Regions from separate parts of the Homo sapiens genome. Here region 2 is linked to region 1. Evidence: promoter capture Hi-C in human tissues and cell types (Jung and others, 2019). All regions are on one chromosome and are shown on one strand. Each heading gives the region's core, a stretch centred on a gene start or on the middle of the fragment in contact. The rest is flanking DNA. Distances are from core to core; before and after follow the strand shown.

Region 1 (3,921 bases), core at 964-3,463:
TTAGTAGAGATGGGATTTCACTTTGTTGGCCAAGCTGGTCTCAAACTTTTTGCTGTCATAATTGTTGTAACTATTGTTCCTTTTGCTGAGGTAGGGCCCCCAGACCAAAAAAAATAAATCTTAGAATCCAAATCAGTGTGTTGGTTTGACCACTGTCACTTGAGAACCACAGTGTGACCAGGGCCTCAGGAGTAGAGGTGATCTCTGCTCGAAAGAGAAATAGAATGAAAATATTCTCCGGGCCAGGCGTGGTGGCTCATGCCTGTAATCCCAGCACTTTGGGAGGCCAAGGCATGTGGATCACCTGAGGTCAGGAGTTCAAAACCAGCCTGGCCAACATGGTGAAACCCCGTCTCTACTAAAAATACAAAAAATTAGCTAAGTGTGGTGGCGCATGCCTGTAATCCCAGCTACTTGGGAGGGTGAGGCAGGAGAATTTCTTGAACCCGGGAGGCAGAGGTTGCAGTGAAGCGAGATCACACCACTGCACTCCAGCCTGGGGGAGAGAGCGAGACTTCCTCTCAAAAAAACAAAAAACAAAAGAATTAAGCAAATTAGACATTGCAGAGAGAACCTGAAGGGGGTCAGACCACGTACAGATTTCTGTGCCACATGCCAAGTACTTCTGAGGCATGACTGGATGAGCTGTCCACATCTGAAATCATCCAGTCTTGTTCAGAACTTTCACACCGGACAGGGAGCCAGGACTGGAATGCAGTCTCCTGGTCACTGGCCAGAGAGTTGGCCTGACCCTGAGACCAGTGGCCAACAAAGGAGCTGCTTAGTCTACCTCCCAGGAAATCCCAGGTGCTTGTCTTCCTGGGAAGTGAATCATTGGCGCAGCACTCCGTATTTTCTCCTCTTCCCAGGGGAAGGATCCTAGGGCAGTATTTGGGAAAGACATGGGCATGGAAGGACACCGGGTGAATGCATAGCCTGCCTGGTTCTGAGCTCTCATGGTAAGGCTCCTACAGACACGGAAAAGATGGGGGCACAGGGACAGATCAGTAGGGTCAGAGCATCTCAGGGACCGAGGGCAATATGGTCCTGAGCAGGGATTAAGAGCTTGGGCTCTCATATGGTGTTTCTGGGCTCAACTGCCAGCTCCATCACTTACTGGTTGCTGTGACCATGGGCAAGTTATTCCATCTCTCCATATCTCTTTCCTCACTTTTAAAATGGAATAATGGGGTACCCACCTCCCAGGGTCACAGAGAGGCTTACAGAAAACGATTCTTGTGAATTGGCTTGCAGTAATAATTCAATACCTGCCAGCTATTCTTATTCCACATCCAAGCCCTTTCGCCTGCTGCTGGGTGAAAACACATGTCAGTGTTTCCTGACGGTTTCCACAAAGAAGATTCCAAAATTACAACCTGCCAGTCTGAAGAATCTCCAAAACATCCCGCACGCATCCTGGAGGCGCGGGCTTGGGGATGGGACTGCCCGCCCGGGTCCTGAACAGGATGCGTGCGCGCAGGCACACACACACCAGCCAGCCTGTGTGTGCGGCCGGAGTCCGGTGCGGTCCCGGGTGAGCAGCGCGTGGCTGGTGGGCGGGGCAGAGCCATTGTTCGCAGGCGTACCGAGTCCCCCGCGCTCGCCCGGGAGGGAGGCGGGGCTTCCCGCGTCCCCCAAGCTCCAGATCCTGGGGTGGCTGCCACGTCTCCCTGCCACGCGCCTGGGGGGACGGAAGACGGGACGGAGATGTTAGTGGTGGGCGCCCCCCGAGGGTTCACCACTGTTTCCTGAGAAACTTCCCCAGTGCCCACCCACCCGTTCTCCGTGTGCCCGAGGGCCGGTCCTGGGCTAGGCTCCGCGCCCCAGCCCCAAACCGGGTCCCCAGCCCCTTCCAGAGAGAAAGCTCCCGACGCGGGATGCCGGGCAGAGGCCCAGCGGCGGGTGGAAGAGAAGCTGAGAAGGAGAAACAGAGGGGAGGGGGAGCGAGGAGCTGGCGGCAGAGGGAACAGCAGATTGCGCCGAGCCAATGGCAACGGCAGGACGAGGTGGCACCAAATTCCCTTCGGCCAATGACGAGCCGGAGTTTACAGAAGCCTCATTAGCATTTCCCCAGAGGCAGGGGCAGGGGCAGAGGCCGGGTGGTGTGGTGTCGGTGTCGGCAGCATCCCCGGCGCCCTGCTGCGGTCGCCGCGAGCCTCGGCCTCTGTCTCCTCCCCCTCCCGCCCTTACCTCCACGCGGGACCGCCCGCGCCAGTCAACTCCTCGCACTTTGCCCCTGCTTGGCAGCGGATAAAAGGGGGCTGAGGAAATACCGGACACGGTCACCCGTTGCCAGCTCTAGCCTTTAAATTCCCGGCTCGGGGACCTCCACGCACCGCGGCTAGCGCCGACAACCAGCTAGCGTGCAAGGCGCCGCGGCTCAGCGCGTACCGGCGGGCTTCGAAACCGCAGTCCTCCGGCGACCCCGAACTCCGCTCCGGAGCCTCAGCCCCCTGGAAAGTGATCCCGGCATCCGAGAGCCAAGATGCCGGCCCACTTGCTGCAGGACGATGTGAGTTTCCCAGCCTGGCCCCGTACCGCCGGGTCGCAGGCGCGGGCTGGGCTTCCAGGGGACGGGTTGGTGGCAGAAGAGAGGGGAGAGCTCCGCGGAGGACTTGGTCATCTTTTTCGAGTTGTGCTGCCTTCCGTGAGTTGGGAATGTGGATTGTAATTTGGGGACTTGAGTCTCCAACTTTAGTTTCTTAAGCTTTAAAGAAAAATCCGGTCGTGCTGGTGCTTTTATGAATTATGCGGGTTTTCCTTTGTCTTCGTGGGGATGTGAGTGCTTTACTTCTCCTTCCTACTGCCGCCTCCCGATAGGTTTCGCGCCCCTCGTCCCCCTCGCCCTCCGCCCCTAATGTATCTGTACAGTTTCAGGGAACTTTTCTCCGTTGCGTCTCGGATACACCCTACCCTCAGTGAACTACGGCGCTGCGGAAGGGTCCGTACTGTCCACCCTTCCCCCAGCGTGATTAGAGAGCGGAGTGGCCCCAGCTGCCTCCACGTGTCTCTTCTCCTGACTCTCCTCTTCCTCCCCCTTCCAGATCTCTAGCTCCTATACCACCACCACCACCATTACAGCGCCTCCCTCCAGGGTCCTGCAGAATGGAGGAGATAAGTTGGAGACGATGCCCCTCTACTTGGAAGACGACATTCGCCCTGATATAAAAGATGATATATATGACCCCACCTACAAGGATAAGGAAGGCCCAAGCCCCAAGGTTGAATATGTCTGGAGAAACATCATCCTTATGTCTCTGCTACACTTGGGAGCCCTGTATGGGATCACTTTGATTCCTACCTGCAAGTTCTACACCTGGCTTTGGGGTAAGCAGCCTCCCTGTCCTCCTGACCTAGTCCTCCAGGTACTCACTGCTCTTTTAATAAGGTAGGATCTTACAGAGGACACCAGCCCCTCCCAGCCTCCCGGTTGGGGTTTTTCTCAGGCATTTCTCTTTGGTTGCTTCAGGCCTAGTGGGCTGGGAAGAACCTGGGGGTACTGAGATGCAGGACTGTCAATGCTGGGGGTTGAGAGCTTTGGAACCTTGTGCTTGTGGGCTTTGAAGTGTGCTGTGCTGGAGAGTCAGCTTTCCCTGAAAGAGCTTTTCTGTTTGAGTCATTTGCTTGGCTGCCTGTCCCACCCCTGCCAGCCACAAAAGAATCAAACCCCTCTACCTGGGAGGCATGGGAACATGGTACTAAACCATTGGCTTTCTAGGGTTTGTGTTGAGCAATCATAGGCTAGCACAAGGGAAACTACTCAGGGAGAGAGTTTATTGGAAAGGGAGGAGAGAGCTCATTGGAAAGAGAGGAAAAGAGAGGTTGTTATCCACAAAACTATTTTGACCTGACCCCTTGGCCAGACCAGGCTTCTTCGTTACAGAGGAAGATGAAGCTCCCGTGCAACCCAAGTCACACAGG
Region 2 (3,816 bases), core at 692-3,191, 1.1 Mb after region 1:
TCAGAAGGCTTGTGACTAAATTTTAGCTAAAAGAGGGGAACTTAGGTTTTCCACATTCCTAACCTATGCTAAGAGTTGTTAATTTTTAATGATACTATTTAGTGATCATAAAGCTGGATATTTTCATTTTTCCTTTACAAAATTTAATATCTTAAGATTTTCAGTTTTCCTTTACAAAATTTAATATTAAACTTCCTTGGCTTATACTATGAGATACAATATAGTAAAGCATGCAGGTTCTAAAATTAGCTAAATCAAGTCTTGAATATTGTCTTTGTCACTAGTGGTATGATCCTGAACTTATTTCCTTATCTGTAAATGGATACTATAGTAAGGGCATGCAGTGATGGTAGCTGCTTTTATCATGATCGTTATAAACATTATTGCTATTATTGGAGAGTAATTGATATCCTGAGACTGCTTATTTATTTCAAAGTGAAATATCTTTTTTTTCCTTTTTTTTTTTTTGAGACAGTCTTGCTCTGTTGTCCAGGCTAGAGTGCAGTGGCACAATCTCGACTCACAGCAACCTCTGCCTACTGGGCTCTAGTTGCCCTCCTACCTCAAACTTCCGGGTAGCTGAGACTACAGGCACACGACCACACTTGGCTCATTTTTCTATTTTTTTTGTGGAGATAGGGTTTCACCATGTTGTCCAGGCTGGTATCGAACTCCCCAGCTCAAGTGATCTGCCTGCCTCAGCCTCCCAAAGTGCTGGGATTACAGATGTGAGCCACTGCACTTGGCTATATCCTATATTTTTAACTACATATCATACTGACAAGGTTCTGCCATTGAAGAATCCATAGTCTAGTTTGTTGGTTTTTTTGTTTTGTTTTGTTTTTTAACCTTTTCGGGGTTGCAGTTAGTTTAGGCGATCTGCAAAGTCTGAGGGAATTGTAGTGCCTAAAAGGCTGCTCCTACTTCAGAAACTAGTTTCATGTTTAGAGGCCCCCACAACCACTCTTAGGTTTGATAACTTGCTAGAAAGGACTTAGAATTCACTGAAAACAATTATACTCACAGTTTATTACAGGAAAAGGACACAGGTTAAAATTAGCCAAAAGAAGAGACACATAGGGCAGAATCTCGGAAGGATCCAATTGTAGAACTTCCTGTCATCCTCTCCCCATGGAGTCATGGATGGCATTACTGCCTCCCAGCCGCAGTGTGTGACAATACTCACAGAGTATTACCAACCATGAAATTGACCTGAGCCTTTGGTGTCCAGGTATTCACTGGGGCTCTATCACATACTGCTCACATGGCTGACTTCTAGTCTCTTATTTCCTCCTGGTGTTGAAACTTATAGGTATGGTTTAGTGCCCCCAACATGAATCACATTTGTCCAGTCGCTAAATCTCTCAGGCAAGCAGAGATACTCTCACCAGACAAGAAGTTCCAGGGGCCCAGAGACCGCTTTCCAGTAGCCAAGAGGAAAGGCCATTCCTTTCTTTGGTGAAGAGTAATTCTTCACTACACAGGGGTCATGGATCTCTTTGGGAATCTGATGAGAACTATTGATCTTGGGTATTTGGCAACATTGTGTTGAATACTTTACATACATATATAGATGTTTATTATATTTCTATTTTGTGAAATGATTGAGAGCTATTAAATCACATAATTCTGAAAGTGTAATCTCCCAAGCTGATAAATTCTAGGAAGGGAATGTTCAAGGAGCTGTAAGAATATATAAAAGGGGGACCCAATCTAACCTGAAGTTTGAGGTAAAGAAGATCAGGTAATCAATGTTTAAGAGCTGAAGGATGAATAGGAATTAACTCGATAACAGGGAGGAATGGAGGAGAAGGAGGACATTTCAGGCCTAAGGAAGAGTCAGTGCAAAGGCCCCAAGAGCCAGTGAGGCTTGGTGCATTTAAGGACCCTACTGAAAACAAGACTGTTGTTTCAGAGAATAAAGAGAAAGGGGAGAATAGAGTGAGAAAAGACTGGGGAAGCTTGATCACTGAGGTCTTATGGGCCATTCAAAGTGTGTAGTTTAGTCTTGATTCTAAGAATAGTAAGTCACTGAAAGGATTTAAGCACAAGTTTTACCTGATCTGATTTGCATTACTCTGGCTATAAGAAGATGCATTTAGATATGTTACTCTGGCTATAAAAAGGATAATTTCAGTAGTTGAAGAGAGAGATGATGGCAGCTTGGTTTTGGACCCAGGATCTTTAAATTCTTAAAAAATTATTGAGGACCCCAAAGTGCTTTTGTTTATATGGCTTATATCTATTGATATTCACTATATTTGTAATAGGAATTAAGAAAAAAAAATTAAATATTCTTTAATTCACCTAAAGACTATAATAAACCTGTGGCATATAATGCAAATAACATTTTTATGAAAAATATATTTTTCAAAAAAAATTAAGACTAGTGTATTACATTTTTATGAATCTCTTTAATGTCTGGATTAAGAAAAGACAGCTGGATTCTCATGTCTGCTTCTGCACTCAATCTATTGTGGTTTGTTATTTTGGTTGACATATGTGAGTAATATCTGACCTGGCATAGGTATATAGTTTGAAAGGGAAAGATATTTTAATACCATTTTCAGGTAGTTGCAGTTTCTTGAAGATTAGTTGCAGTATGGTATCTGAAGCCTTATCAATGAACTTCCTCTGTTATTGTATTAAAATCCATTGGTCTCAGTTTTTTTCAATAAATTATGCTGGAACAATTGGATATCCTTGTGCAAAACAATGAACCTCAACGGTTATACTGCACTATATACATAAATTAATTTGAAATGGATCATAGACCTAAATCGGAGTTAACATGTATAAAACTAATAGAAAATGTGGCAAAAATAATCATTGTGACTTTGGGTTAGGCAGAGATTTCTTAGCTAAGATACAAAAAATATGAACCATAAAAGAAATAACTGATAAATTGGACTTCATCACTGTTTAAAAATTCTGCTTTTCAAAAGACACTTTAAAAAAATGAGCAGGAACCAGGTACAGCAGTGCATGCCTGTAGTCCCAGCTACTCAGGAAGCTGAGGCGGGAGGATTGCTTAAGCCCAGGAGTTCAGGGCTATAGTGCCTGTGAAAAACCACTGCTTAAGAACAGCCTGACCAACATGGCTGAAACCCCGTCTCTACTAAAAACGCAAATTTAGTAGAGACGGGGTTTCAGCCATGTTGGCCAGGCTGTTCTTAAACTCCTGTCTTCAGGTGATCTGCCCACCTCGGCCTCCTAAAGTCCTGGGATTACTGGCATGAGCCACTGCACCTGGCCTCAACAAGATTATTATTATGTCTTATGTAGCAAAAATGGGCTTATGTACTGGTTTTACCCTATCAATTCAATAATTTGTTCTATGTCAGGTTCAGCACACACAGGTGCTTGATAATACTGGTTGACTAATAGGCAGAAACTGGATTTGAATCTAGTATCTTCTCTGCCCACCTACTGGAATTACAGCAGTCTTAGTGCATTTGCATCCTTCTGGTTTAGGTTTTATTTTATTTACCTAGATTTTTATTTAGGTAAATTATTTACTTAGATTTTTATTTAGGTAAAATTTACATACAGTGAGATACATGGATCATAAGTGTACTCTTAGGTGAGTTTTGACAAATGCATACTTTTGTGTAACCTTCAATTTCAAGATACACAACAGTTTCATAATCTGAGTTTCCTCATACTCCTTTCCAGTCTGTACCCATCCCCCATATGCAATTACTGTTCTGATTTGTCACCAAGAATTTGTGTTGCCTATTCTTGAACTTACTTCATATAAATGCCATCATATAGTGTACATTCTTTGTGTCTGTTTTCTTTCAATCAGTATGATGT

Evidence for each region. Contacts are between HindIII fragments. The study calls those that stand out against the background at their distance.
Region 2: a contact is called between a fragment that was not itself captured here and the fragment with the promoter of SCD in region 1, in 1 of the 25 tissues and cell types used here (dorsolateral prefrontal cortex).

Annotation. Positions count from the first base shown.
Region 1 is chr10:100,345,020-100,348,940 of GRCh38, forward strand. It overlaps SCD (stearoyl-CoA desaturase), which reads left to right and starts at 2,214. Exons shown (of 6, transcript NM_005063.5): 1 at 2,214-2,512; 2 at 3,045-3,327. The coding sequence starts at 2,486. RefSeq lists silencers at 1,479-1,858, 2,059-2,108 and enhancers at 1,649-2,240, 1,889-1,958, 2,339-2,578. The HindIII fragment of the contact is 8,743 bases long and covers 1-3,921 here.
Region 2 is chr10:101,431,680-101,435,495 of GRCh38, forward strand. All of the region lies in intron 2 of BTRC (beta-transducin repeat containing E3 ubiquitin protein ligase), which reads left to right. Among named protein-coding and RNA genes, the nearest start is that of BTRC, 79 kb to the left of the region's middle. The HindIII fragment of the contact is 5,602 bases long and covers 1-3,816 here.